5 separate regions of the Homo sapiens genome follow, and all the other regions are linked to region 3. The links are contacts of gene promoters, found by promoter capture Hi-C in blood cells and fetal thymus (Javierre and others, 2016). All regions are on one chromosome and are shown on one strand. The core of a region is centred on a gene start or on the middle of the fragment in contact, and the rest is flanking DNA. Distances in the headings are between cores, read along the strand shown.

What was found. Contacts are between HindIII fragments. The CHiCAGO score rates a contact against its expected background, and 5 or more counts as called.
Region 1: a contact is called between a fragment that was not itself captured here and the fragment with the promoter of SUSD3 in region 3, in 4 of 17 cell types (non-activated CD4 T cells, naive CD4 T cells, activated CD4 T cells and 1 more). The highest score is 7.6, in non-activated CD4 T cells.
Region 2: a fragment that was not itself captured here is called in contact with the fragment with the promoter of SUSD3 in region 3 in 4 of 17 cell types (total CD8 T cells, naive CD4 T cells, neutrophils and 1 more); the score reaches 5.8 in total CD8 T cells.
Region 4: a contact is called between a fragment that was not itself captured here and the fragment with the promoter of SUSD3 in region 3, in 5 of 17 cell types (naive CD4 T cells, non-activated CD4 T cells, total CD4 T cells and 2 more). The highest score is 8.9, in naive CD4 T cells.
Region 5: a contact is called between a fragment that was not itself captured here and the fragment with the promoter of SUSD3 in region 3, in 1 of 17 cell types (neutrophils). The highest score is 6.3, in neutrophils.

Annotation. Positions count from the first base shown.
Region 1 is chr9:92,844,722-92,847,421 of GRCh38, reverse strand. ZNF484 (zinc finger protein 484) reads left to right here. Exons shown (of 5, transcript NM_031486.4): 5 at 1-2,700. The coding sequence ends at 1,194. Among named protein-coding and RNA genes, the nearest start is that of ZNF484, 32 kb to the left of the region's middle. The HindIII fragment of the contact is 3,007 bases long and covers 1-2,700 here.
Region 2 is chr9:93,302,636-93,305,335 of GRCh38, reverse strand. All of the region lies in intron 26 of WNK2 (WNK lysine deficient protein kinase 2), which reads right to left. Among named protein-coding and RNA genes, the nearest start is that of WNK2, 120 kb to the right of the region's middle. The HindIII fragment of the contact is 5,309 bases long and covers 1-2,700 here.
Region 3 is chr9:93,057,447-93,060,146 of GRCh38, reverse strand. SUSD3 (sushi domain containing 3) reads right to left here and starts at 1,446. Exons shown (of 5, transcript NM_145006.4): 1 at 1,317-1,446. The coding sequence starts at 1,404. RefSeq lists enhancers at 1-370, 371-1,351 and silencers at 862-1,271, 1,282-1,731. The HindIII fragment of the contact is 6,174 bases long and covers 554-2,700 here.
Region 4 is chr9:92,862,121-92,864,820 of GRCh38, reverse strand. The region is part of intron 2 of ZNF484 (zinc finger protein 484); the gene reads left to right. Among named protein-coding and RNA genes, the nearest start is that of ZNF484, 15 kb to the left of the region's middle. The HindIII fragment of the contact is 2,162 bases long and covers 198-2,359 here.
Region 5 is chr9:93,281,112-93,283,811 of GRCh38, reverse strand. The region is part of intron 19 of WNK2 (WNK lysine deficient protein kinase 2); the gene reads right to left. Among named protein-coding and RNA genes, the nearest start is that of WNK2, 98 kb to the right of the region's middle. The HindIII fragment of the contact is 3,407 bases long and covers 1-2,700 here.

The DNA.
Region 1 (2,700 bases), core at 66-2,565, 210 kb after region 3:
CATGTGCATCAGCGAATTCACACAGGAGAGAATCCCTTTATATGTTCAGAATGTGGGAAGGTCTTCACTCACAAGACAAATCTCATTATACACCAGAAAATTCATACAGGAGAAAGACCCTATATATGTACTGTGTGTGGTAAGGCCTTTACTGACAGGTCAAATCTCATTAAGCACCAAAAAATTCATACTGGAGAGAAACCTTATAAATGCAGCGACTGTGGAAAATCATTCACCTGGAAGTCTCGGCTCAGGATACATCAGAAGTGTCATACTGGAGAGAGACATTATGAATGCAGTGAATGTGGGAAAGCATTCATTCAGAAGTCAACATTAAGTATGCACCAGAGAATTCATAGAGGGGAAAAACCATATGTTTGCACTGAATGTGGTAAGGCCTTCTTCCACAAATCCCATTTTATTACACATGAGAGAATTCATACTGGAGAGAAACCCTATGAATGCAGTATTTGTGGGAAATCCTTCACTAAGAAATCACAGCTCCACGTACATCAGCAGATTCACACAGGAGAGAAACCCTATAGGTGTGCTGAATGTGGAAAGGCTTTTACTGACAGATCAAATCTCTTTACACACCAGAAAATTCACACTGGAGAGAAACCTTATAAATGTAGTGACTGTGGGAAAGCCTTCACTAGGAAGTCAGGTCTCCATATACATCAGCAATCCCATACTGGAGAAAGGCATTATGAGTGCAGTGAATGTGGGAAAGCCTTTGCAAGAAAATCAACACTAATTATGCATCAGAGAATTCATACAGGAGAGAAACCCTATATTTGTAATGAATGTGGGAAATCCTTCATCCAGAAGTCACACTTAAATAGACACAGGAGAATTCATACTGGAGAGAAACCCTATGAATGCAGTGACTGTGGCAAGTCTTTCATTAAGAAATCACAACTCCATGAGCATCATCGAATTCACACAGGAGAGAAACCATATATATGTGCTGAGTGTGGAAAGGCCTTCACCATCAGATCAAATCTTATTAAACACCAGAAAATTCATACTAAACAGAAACCCTATAAGTGCAGTGACTTGGGGAAAGCCTTAAACTGGAAGCCACAACTCAGTATGCCTCAGAAATCTGACAATGGGGAAGTAGAGTGCTCCATGCCACAATTATGGTGTGGGGACTCAGAAGGTGACCAAGGCCAACTTTCTTCTATCTAGTTAGAATTATGAACATCTGGATCATATAGCTGATGTGTAGTTACACATATGGGGAGACACTTTTGAGAGTGTTTAAGCAATGTATAGTGGCCATCTTTGGTTACTTGATATTGGTGTTGTCAAGCTCCTGCAAATAATAGTAAATGTGCAAGGAGATGATTGGCAGTCTTTCTTGTTTCACTTTTTGGGCAAACAGTTTTATAAATTCATGGCTGTTGAGTTTTTCATGTTCTGGGTACCACAACTATTCAATATTGACCCGCAAAAATTCATAATGAGTAGTATGATGAGATAATTTTACATTGTCTAAGCAGCCTAAGGACACTGAGATCAAGGCAAAGAGAGGGCAATTTAGGTCTATAATGAAAGTGAATCAGCAGTTTTTGTGAAAACACTAAAGACAGAAAGAAAGGACTCTACTTTTTTTAAAATTTTCTTTGGGAAGTCACCATTATTTATTGTTATATCTGTTGGCGTATGCTGGGGCAGCAGTTAGCCAAGAGGTCTGAAATTGCTCTTTGCCTATTTCTCAAAAGTCTATATTATTACCTTAGAACTGGCCCTACGATCATGGAACTTAGATACAGGGACCCAGGTCTAGATAGCAGCACTTTAGATCCTCAGCTTTCACCACAGAAACCTGCACTTTTTTGATGTTGTTGTTACCAACTCCTGTTTGAAAAATAGGACAAATTAAGAAAATGGATATCAAATCCTAAAATTTTTTCCCACTAATTTTGTTAGTACATTCTCTACATGTTCGTTACTTGCTAGATTACCATGAGACACAAGCATCTTGAATTTTAGTTTGTGTCCTTAGAAGATAAAATGTAGTTGAACATTTGGAAGACTTCTCCTTTTATCTCCTCACAATCTCTACAAACTAATCTTAATTAATTTTGTTTTTCAAATTCTCTGTATTTGAATAGACTTTTTTGTCTTTTCTTCTATCAAATACTGAAAGAACTGTGTTGTAATTTTACAAATAATTGTGAATTTGTCTCCTTTAGAGCTACTAATTTTTGCTTTATATATTTTGTCTTTGATTTTACATACAATTTAGAATTGTTGTAATCTTCCTGGTTAATTGACACATTATCATTATTAGATGTTTCTTTTTATCTCTAGTAATTTTTTGCCTTAAATGTACTATGTCAGATACTAATATACATATGGATTAAAAGCTAATGTAAATTAGTACTAACATTTCTGGACAAGGGGAGAAGTTATAACATTATAATTTCATTTATTTGTCTCTTATATGGTATTAATTTTGTATATTTGGATTCTGTACATGGTGAACATAGCCAATCATTATTTGAGTCAATATCCATTTAAATTAACCCACATATTTATCATTTTAATTACTTTTTTATTCCTTCCTGTCCTTTAAGTTTTCCTCTAGAATTATTTTGCTTCTTACTGAGGAACACCCTTTAGTATTTCTTTTACTGTGAGTTTGGTGGTGACAAATTGTTCTTCATTTGTTGGCAGTGTTTTATTTTG
Region 2 (2,700 bases), core at 200-2,699, 250 kb before region 3:
GCAGGAGGGGCCCCTGAAGTCTGTGATGCAGGCTAGGCTAGGATCCAATATGTAGGGGCACTGGGTGAGCACCAATTTCCCTGGCAGGCTTTGTCGGGGGCTGTGGCCCATGGTCCCATGTAGACAGTCCTAAGCCAGGTGCTTCAAAAAGCTGCTCTGTGTCTATCTGGCAGCTCTTGGTGTGGCTGGAACTCTACATTCAGTGCTAATTCCTGGCTGTTGCCATGCTGGGAAGAACACCATCAAACAGGCCGGCTGCCGGCTGGGAACCACCAGAGGGAGCCTGGACCTGCGATCAGAGCTGGGACTCACTCACTGTCCTGGGAACCTGGGGTCTGGAGTGTCTGGAGGACACGGCACCTGCTCAGAGCCAGGGAGCAACCCTGGCCCACGGAGGCCTCCACGGGCCCTTCCTAAACTTGGGCCCCTCCTAAACTTGGGCCCCAGTGACCAGTGTGCAGACGGCTCCTAGACCTCCAGACAAACTGATGGGTGCCAGTCTTTCAAGGCCATGCTGTCGGACGCCACTCACTGCAGACAACTGGGCTGGGGCAGAGACCTCCCCACACTCTGGACAGCCCTGCCCGTCCTTAGGTGGCTCCTTAGTCCACCTCTCCAGAGCCTCGGCCTCGATTGGGCCCTGCCCCTCACTTGCCCACCATGCAGATGGCACCCAAAGACAGCCCCCACCTGGCCCCCTGCCACTCGCTCTGTGCCAGGAAAAGCACCCCCACCTCCTGTCCATAAGGCAGCAACGGGAGAACAAAGGAAACTTTCAGGAGGCTGCCAATTGACGCCAGGCCCACCTCGGTCTCCCTGTGGGGCTTCCATCCCCAGCCAGGCCCAGGAAGAGGCGGCGCCAAGGCCCTGGACTGCTCAGTGGTGCTGGGGCGGGGGCTTGGCAGCCTCATCCCAGCTGTTGGGGGATCCGCTGCTTTCTTCCCAGAATGTAAAAGTGGCAGCACACAGGACGACAGGAGGGCCGGCTCTTGGACTTGGCATCTCCTGCTTTTGTGCAGCCGACATCAGCTGAAGCCCCCCAGGCGCAAGTGGAGGCTCCCTCCCCACTCCAGCCATGGCACAAAAACAGCCTGCTCTTGGGTCAACGGCCCTGCCCTCTGGGTAGCCCGAGCACCTGCCCCATCCAGACCCTCAGCCTGTGGCCAAGAAGACATCTCAACCAAGAAGGATTCAAACTGAGGGTGTGTGCCTGGGACAGGGGGACTAAAAAGTGGTCAGCCCCTGAGCAATCCCCACATTCGCTTTTCACCTCACAGGGCTCAATACTGCCCAGGAGCCCACGGGACAGCTGGGGCAGCCCACCTCCCATCATGGGTGCCCTGGCGGCTTCACCTCAGTCCCCCACAACTTCCCGCGCACCCTCAGGTGGGTCAGCCCCCGCCATGGTCAGCACTGGCTCCCTTTTCTGGCACAGGAGAAAAATGGGCATCCAGGGACAAAACCCCTTTTAAGGTGTCTACGTATTGAACAACCATGTTCTTGAGCCAAAAACTGTCCACAAAGCATGCATTGGGAAGCAGGATCTGCCTTGGCTCTGCCCAGGGAGACCTGGGGCTGTTTTCATGTTGCCTTGAGCTAAATGACCCCACATTGCACTAGGCCCCATTGCACACAGGCCTGCTCCACAGACAGCCCACAGTGGTACGCAGCACTGACCACCCTGGCTGCAGAGGTCAGGGCCTGGTGGGCGCAGTGCAGGGTGGGGGCCCTCCTCTCTGGATGCCCTCCACCCCGAGGCCTCCTGAACACCTGCTGCAAAGAGCCTCGCTGAGCATGCACTCTCTCCCCACCGGGAGGGATGAAAGCATTCCACGGTGGGAGAAGGCCTAGAAGGCATCGTGCAGTGACACCGGAGGGTCCCTGAGCCAAACATGCTGCAGCCAACAGCCAATGTGGAGAAAACCCAAAGAGATACCAGCGTGCAGAGAGAAAGGCCCACAGGGTGCCAGAACATGCCCGGTCAGGTGGGAAGATCCAGAAGGACCCCAGCTTCTGACAAGCAGAACCAACAGAACCACGACCAGAGGTGCCATCTCAGCATCTGCACCTGACCCTCCTCCCTGGCTCCAAGGCCAACATCCCTTAGAATGCACTGGGCCAGGTGTGGTGGCTCCCACCTGTAATCCCAGCACTTTGGGAGGCCAACGTGGGTGGACTGCTTGAGCCCAGGAGGTCTAGACCAGCCTAGGCAACATGGTGAGACCCTGTCTCTACTAAAAATACAAAAAAGTAGCTGGGTGTGGTGGTGCAGACCTGTGGTCCCAGCTACTTGGGAGGCTGAGGTGGGAAGATTGCTTGAGTCAGGGAAGCGGAGGTTGCAGTGAGCTGAGATCTTGCCGCTGCACTCCAGTCTGGGTAACAGAGCCAGACTTTGTCTCAAAAAAAAAAAGGGAGACTGCTCTGGGGCACTGGGTCATGTGAGCTCCCCACAGCAACTGCTGACCACAAGGGGGCATCTGCAAGCTGGGTGAGAAGTCTATGCCAAGGGGCCCAGCTCACAGGGGTTCTAAGCAGGGCCTTGCACTCCCTAGGGGTCTGTCCACCTGCTGCTCCCAGCCTCCACTGCTTTATTCCCTGTCCTGCACCTTGAGTCAGCTCGGGCCTCTGGAGGTGCCTGCTGCACTGCCCTGCTCTATCCCTGGGCACAGCCACCTGGGCACCCGCAGCCCATCCTCTGGC
Region 3 (2,700 bases), core at 197-2,696:
TTCCAAGGCAAACAGCCTTTTGTATGCAAATATGCCAGAGCCTCCAGATACTCCCTGGCCTTGGGCTGACCTTGGGCAAGTCAAGGCTATCCAAAGGGCACTGGCACCCACGCCCCCAGGCTGTTGTGCCAGTAGAAGGGGCTCCTCAGGTAGTACCAGGCCCTGGGCAGGCCTTGCTCAAACACAGGAGCAAAAGTGCTCATCACCCCAACACCAAATTAGGGACTCTGGACATTAGGCTGCCAGAGTCAAACTAAATAAACCAAATCCACCAGCGCCAGGAACAAGTCTCAGCGCCCACTTTGCTGAGCTGCGGACCTCTGCTCGGTGAATTAGCTCCCTGAGCCGCAGTTTCCCCAACTGTGAGAGGAAGCCATTCTCCTGCCACCTTCCTGCCAGTTCCCTGGGGCTGCAGGCTGACAGTGTGACCTGGTCCAGCCCACCCCACTCCGGGCCTCAGCTTCCTCCTGCGCAGAGCCTTAGCCCCGCAACGCCTGAGACGCCCAGAACCCTCAGGCCTAACGTTCGTGGGCAGTGGCCGCGGAAGTAAGCTTTTGGGATATCTGAGACCCAGAGTTCCGGTTTGGTTCCGTTTCTAAAAGGGTTAGACTTTAGAATCATTCAAGGAGCAAGGCCAGCATTCGAACCCCGGAGCCTTGGGCACGGGAGCAGACAACTCTTTAAGCACATTCTTGAATTCAAACACTTAAAAGTAAAATAAAAAGCAGCTTCTCTTCCTTCCAAAGGCCTCTGAGCCTCCTCCGAGACAGCCGAGGCGATCCCAAGCCTGGCTACAGGGTGACCTCGGACAGCCACTCCCCTCTCGCAGGCTCAGTTTCTCCATCTGTAAAGTGGAGCTGCGCTGGTCACCAAGGAATCGTGAAGATGACACCTCCCTCAGGCGCAGAGAGGGCTCCCGGCTCCCCCCTCCCGCCCCCGCGCCACCCGCCCGCCAGGTGAGGCCGGTTTCGACTTCCCCGGGAGGGGCGCGGAGGGGCCCGGAGCCTGCGGCGTGGAGAGGCTTGGCCGGCCGCGCTGTCCGCAGACGCCCGGGACCAAGGCGCTGCGGCCACTCGGGAACGGGCGCGCGGGCTGCTGCGTGCAGCCGCCTGGTTTCGAACTGCTCGCTGCCAGGCTTCGGCTCCGCTAGGGCGCCTGCTGGGCCGGCGGAGGGTCGAGGAGGTTCGTCCTCGGGGCAGATCGTTGCTGTGGCCCCCACCCACGGCTGTGCGGCCCCGCGACCCCCTCCCCTCGGCTTTCCCGTCTGTGAAATGGGCGCAGAGCCCCGCACGCGGCCACTCGGCCCCAGCCCTCACCTGTGCGGTTCCCTGGGGCAGGCGTGGTGACCCCGGCCCGCCCCCGGGGCCTCGCCTTGCCACGGAGGGTGGCGGCCGCCCAGCGCATCCTGCGCGCTCCGAGGCGCTTGGCGGGGTCTGCCAGGGGAGTGAGCCCGGCTTGTGGGGGCGGGGCCTGGGCCTGGGCCTGGGTGAGGGGCGGGGAGGCCCCGCCCTCCACGCCCGCCCAGGGGCGGTTCCATGCAACTTACAGACCACGCCCACACGTTGGACTGGGGCCGAGGTCCGGCCGGGGGCTGTGGGCGGGGGCCCTTGGGGAGACCAAATACCCAGCGGGCCAAGGCAGCCGGCTGAGCGGAAAGTGTTGCTACTCCGGGGCGTTGCACGCGTGGCTACCTCTGCCCAACACCCTTCCCCCATCCCTTCCTGTTCTCACCTTCACTCCTAGTGTGGTTTTTCCATGTGCTTCTGTGTTTTTATTTTTTGAGCAGGATTTTGCCTTCTCAGGGTGCCGGATTCGGCCGGTACCAAAGGGCAAACAGCAAAACGCCTCCCCGGCCCGCCCCTCCCGTAACCCACTCACCCCCAGAGTCCTGTGTGGACCCAGCCTTCTTTCCCTGTCTCTCACTGGGCCAGGCCGTCTGAGGCACACTGAGGTCTGGGTGCCCTTGTTGTCTTCGGTTCTCACTGAGGGGCCCCCGGCTGGGGGAAACAGGATGGAAAGCCCTGGGGTCTGTCTGCAGGGCCCACCACACCTGGAGGCCTCCCTTCTCCTGGCTTCCCCTTCCCACCCAGCTCCACTTGCAGCAGGCCCAGAGCTGTGATCCGGGCTCTTTCTCTCCCTCTGACCCCACCCAACCCAGGCTTAGCCCCCTGCCCAGGCAGCCACCAAAGGGTTGGGTGTGGTGTCAGGCCTCAGACATCCTGGATCTTGGGCTGCTTGTGGGAGACCACCTGAGCCATGCCTATTCCTGTGGAGCTGGCAAAGGCAATCCTGGCAGAGGGAACAGCAGGTGCAAAGGCCCTGGTTTGGCAATGTGTGGCAGCAGAAGCCCAGTGCGGCTGGCTTAGGCATGCCTCCAGGAGCGCAGAAGGTGGCCCAGGTGGGCCAGGCTGGCTCTAGAGTGCCTGGCAGGTGACCGTGAAGAGTGTGGATGTTCAGGTGGACCATGAAGCAGGGTTCCAGCAGGGCAGCCCCTCCCCGTCTCTGCTTTCCGAGCCCTCCAAAGCTGAGGTTCAGTGTGAAACGTGAGGGGCCCTCCCCCTTTCGCCATCAGGGTTGGCGTCACCCCTGATATGTTCTTCCCACTTGGACTTGTGGGTCACACACGATGGCTTACTTCAATCTCCTTTATTCAAAATCAAGCATGTGTATTCTTTCTGCCATGTCGGGAAGGGCAGGGCC
Region 4 (2,700 bases), core at 29-2,528, 200 kb after region 3:
TCTGGTTAAAATCTCTCAGAGTAGGGAGGGGGAGTTGGGAAGTCTCCCATGCGTGTGTAGGTTTATCAATTTCTCCATGTAATTTTGTCAACTTTTGTTTTATGTATTTTAGATTGTCATTCAAAATATGAATTATATTTTCCTGAAGTACTGATCTTTTTGCTATTACGTGGTACTGAATTTTTTGCTTAAAAGCTTAAGAGTCTGTAATTGCAACCCAGTTTCTATCTATTTTATTAGAATTGTCTGGCAAAATGCATTTTAGTATAACAGAAATCTAAGAATTACGGGCTTAAACACAAAAGAAGCAAAAGAAGTCTGAAAGTATTCATTCAGGGCCTGATGTCTTCACAAATTTATACACCTTTTTTTTTTGTTGTTGTTCTCTATGTCATTCTCATTTTGTGATTTTCAACCTCACGTCACTTGATAGTTCCCGAGATTTGCTGGGGTTGCATTAACTGAGTCAGCGTTCCAGGCCAGCAGCATGGTGAGGTTGGGGAGGAAAGGGGCACTCACACCTTCTCCTTTAAAAACTGACATCTCAGAAGTATCGCCTGTATCTCTGTGGCCAAAGTATAGTTTCCTGGTTACATTTAAGGTGGGCTGGGAAAAGAAAGTCTTACTCAGAGTAGCCAGCTAAGAATTCATGTTCTGTTATTAGGGAAGAAAGGATGAGTGAATGTTGGAAGACAACTAGCTATCACTGTCACATCTCCTAAATACAAAAGCCAGAATTTATCTGTCTTTTGCTTTTTTCATCCATCTTGGCATTCAACCCCATCAACTAATCCCCACATACATTCTAAGACGTTACTCTCTCCTGGCTCTGTCCGATTTCTCAGTTTTTATTGCTGACACCTCTTCTTCAATGCTGGTAACTTTTTCAGATTCTTTCCTTTACATTCTCCTTTATCAGGTGTCCTCTCAAGCAGTCTCATTTACTCAGATGATTTTAGTTATTAATTATCTACTGGTGACTCCCAAATCTTTATCTCCACTCTAGGCCTCTGCCTAACGTCCTATAATATGCCTGCCTACATGTTTAATCCCTGTAATCTCAATATGTGCAAAACATAAGTGATTTCATCTGGTTCCCTTTCTCCAACCTTTTCCATTCATCAATCTCTACTTCAGTATATGACACTATAATCTCAGAGTATACAAAACGAATAATTGAGAATTTCACTTTAGTTCCTCCTTTTTCTTACTCCATCTATCAATTCTAATTACCTACTATCTACACCAATTTCTTTTTCTATATTCCTGTTAAATAATATTTTCTCCCTAACTAAGGTGTTTTAATTCTTTCACATGAAATATTGCCTAGACTTCCACTCTTGCTCATTCAAATGTATTCTCCCTGCTGTTTCTTGATAGTCTTTTTTTATTTTTTATTTTAAGTTCTAGGGTACATGTGCAGGATGTGCAGGTTTGTTGCATAGGTAAATGTGTGTCATGATGGTTTGCTGCACCTATCAAGCCATCACCTAGGTATTAAGCCCAGCATGCATTAGCTTTTTTCCCTAATGCTCTCCCACCCCCCACCCTTCCCCAACAGGCCCCAGTGAGTGTTGTTCCCTTCCCTGTGTCCATGTGTTCACATTGTTCAGCTCCCACTTATAAGTAAGAACATGTAGCGTTTGGTTTTCTGTTCCTGCATTAGTTTGCTGAGGATAATGGCTTCCAGCTCCCTGCATGTCCCTGCAAAGGATATGATCTCATTCCTTTTTATGGCTGCATAGTATTCCATGATGTATATGTGCCACATTTTCTTTAGCCAGTCTATCACTGATGGGCATTTGGGTTGATTCCATGTCTTTGCTATTGTGAATAGTGCCACAATGAACATATGCATGCGTGTATCTTTATAACAGAATGATTTATATTCCTTTGGGTATATAACCAGTAATGGGATTGCTGGGTCAAATGGTATTTCCACTTCTAAATCTTTGAGGAATCACCACACTGTCTTCCACAATGGTTGAACAAATTTACATTCCCACTAACAGTGTAAAAGCGTTCCTATTTCTCCACAACCTGGCCAGCATCTTCTTGGCAGTTGTAAACATAAATCTAATAATCTTTTCTCTATATATAAATTACTTTAATGGCAGTCCATTATGTATTGGAGGAAAAATAGTTGCATGATCTCATGCCAGCATACCTCTACTGAAATTTCCTCATAAACACCTTTCCTTCACTGCATACAGACTTCTCATTATGCAGACTAATTTGTGGTTCCCTGAATTTATCATGTATTTTCCTGTCTTTATACCTTTGCTCATGCTGCTCCCTTCTAAAAATCACTTTGCCCTACTCTGCTTGCATTAAACATGGCATCTCCCAAGACTAAGCTTAAGTTTCATCAACTCTACAGAACTTAGTCTTACACTCCATGTAGAATTTTCTTCTCTCTATTTGGGGTCATGCTATGCTTTGCACATCTCTTATGCCCTTTATAATATCTTAGAAAGTTGTTGTAAGTTCTTTGATGTCTTGAAGCATATTGTGTAAAGTTGTGAAGATGTTCACAACATAAAGTTCTCAACATCTTGCTTAGTAAATATATGGCAGGTAATTCCTAAGAATTACCTAAGTAATTATGCTTAATAAATGTATGGCAGTTAATTCTTTTTTTATTTTTTTTTTCAGACTTCTTTCTCAACTACCAATGGCAGGTAATTCCTCAGAATTAAG
Region 5 (2,700 bases), core at 76-2,575, 220 kb before region 3:
GGCACAAGTCAGTGTACATTCCAGCCACCAGCCACAACTGCTTTAGAGAATGTGTCCTTGTTCTGCATAATGGGAGTCAGGGCCAGATGTATGAAACCTTTCAAAAAGGGTCTCTATTTTCTACCTGAAAGACTATACACACTGAGTTGTTCCAGCAATCTTGTCACCATGAAGGGTAGACATGAGAAGGCTTCTAATGACTGATTTGACTTTTTAATGTTTATAGCACCTTTCAGATTTTCTATTTCTTCTTAAGTTTGGTAAGTTGTAGTTCCCTAAGACATAATCCAAAGAAATTTTCAAATTCTTATATTTGTCTTAATGTTTGTAGGACTGTAGCAGTGTCTCCCCCTTTTCATCCCTAATATTGATTACTTATGTCTTTCTCTCTCCTTTAGTCAGTCTCATCACAGGGGGCTTACTAATGCTATGAGCCATTTCAAAGAACCGTTGCTAAGCTCTGTTGATACCCTATTGTATATTTGTTTACTATTTCATTAATTTATGTTCTTATCTATTTTACTTTCTCCTTTCTTTATTTGGGTTCCATTTTCTCTTATGCTAACTTTTTGCACTACATACTTTTATTACTATCAGACTTTTCTCCTGTCCAATATATGCATTTAAAGGCTACAAAGTTTCTGCTCAATATGCTGTTAACTGCATTTCACAAATTTTGATACGTAATATTTTCATTAGCATGATGTTCATATCATCATTCAGAATGTTTTATTAGTTTCCATTGTAATTTCTTCTTTGCCGAATGAGATATTTATAAATGCACTGCTTAACTATCAAATGTGGATATTTTCTAGTTATCTTCTAGTTAATGAGCTTGGGTTTACTTCCAACTTTAATCAAAAGCATGCATCAAGTGATTTTGATTCTTTGAAACTTGTTGAGATTTGTTTTGGGTCTGCGTAAAGTTAAATTAAAAATATTCTGTGTGCATGAAAAAACAGTGCATTCTTCAGCTACTGAGTACAGTGTCCTGTATATATAAGATACTAATTCTGTGGTTGAAATTTTCTCTATCCCTACTGAGTGTCTCCTATTCCAAAAGCTGAAATCTCCCATGATTGTAAATTGCTCCATTTGTTTTAGTTGTGTTAATTTTTATTTTATGCATTTTGAGGGCTTATTACTAAATATAAGCAAACATTAAATTATTATATCTTCCTGGCCAGTTGAATCTTTCACCATTATGTTTTTGCCTTAAAATCTACATTGATATAAAAATATAGACATTAGCTTCCTCTAGGTGAGTATTAGTGTGCTCTTTTTCCATTTTTGTTTTTTACTCTTAATCTTTTTATAATCTTATGTCTTTGTTCTGTTTTTTTTTTTTCACTTTTGAGAATCTTTGAGATTTAGTCCATTTACATTTAATTACTGATCTACTTGGGTTAAAACTAGCATCTTACTAAAGATTTCTATGTGTTCTCCATGTTCAGTGTTGCTGTTTCTTTCCTTCTTTGCCATATTTTAAAAAATTCCTTCCCCACCTGCCCCCTCCACAAGTGTGGAGGTTATCTGCTATTCTACGAGTCTCACAGGGGTTATTCTAGAGACTATCATTTGCATTCTTGATTTGGCTCTCTGCCTAGGCAACATGGAATCCTGGAGCCCTTTAAATGCATTTCCTGCCTCCTGATAAATATGCCCCATTTTCATGCATTTTAACATGCCAAACATTTTAAACCTCAAGACATTATTTTTTCATCCAGTCAAAATTCACTTAGATCTACTCATACATTTATAATTCCATCAGTTTTTGTTCCTACCTGCATTCTGGCCTTTCATCTGCAGTCATTGTTCTTCTGTCTAAAAATATTCCCTTTAGTATTTCTTTAATTGAGCTGTGAAGGTGATGACTGCTTTTCTCTTCATTTCATCTTCATGGAAGTCAGATCCTTTTACCGATATTTGAGGTTGGGGCTTATTTCCTTCAGCACTGCGAGGACAGCACTATTCCTTGTCCACTGGCATATGTTATCTGTACTGAGACAGGGGCTTCCAAACCTTTAAAGGACCTGTTTTTTCTTGGGCATCCTTTAAATTTTCCCATGTGCCTTTGATTTTCAGCACTTTATGATATATGTAAGTGCAGATTTCTTTTTTAACTTACAGAGTTTGGAAGTTTCTTGAATTAGTGGCTTCATGCCTTCCAATTCTCTGCATTATCTCTTCAAACTTGTTTTTGCTGCATTCTCTTGTTTTCTGGGACTCCAATTACATGATGTTTGACCATCTCACTGTAATCTCTATATTTCTTAGCACCTCTTTTCTATTTTCTACTGTTTTCATTATCCTTATTTTACTTTAGTTTCTTTAGAGCTTGCCGATTCTCTCTCTGGCAGTGTACAATCCATCCTCTGATGTCTTAATTTTAACTAATGTATTTTTCAGTTCTACAACTTCCATTTAGCTTTTTTTTTGGCATAGTTTCTAATTCTTTGACAAAAATTTCAATCTAGTCATTTGTTTCTTTTAATGCAGTAGGCAAACTTAGTTCTCAGTCTGATAACTCCACCATTGGGAACCTCTGCTGACATGCTCTGTTACTGCTGTTTGGATCTTAATAGCTTTATTTAGGTATAACTGCTACAATAAGTTGCACATATCTAAGTTTTGACACAGGCATATAAGTAAAATCATCACAATCTAATGAACATAGTCATCACCCTCCTGGATGTTTCC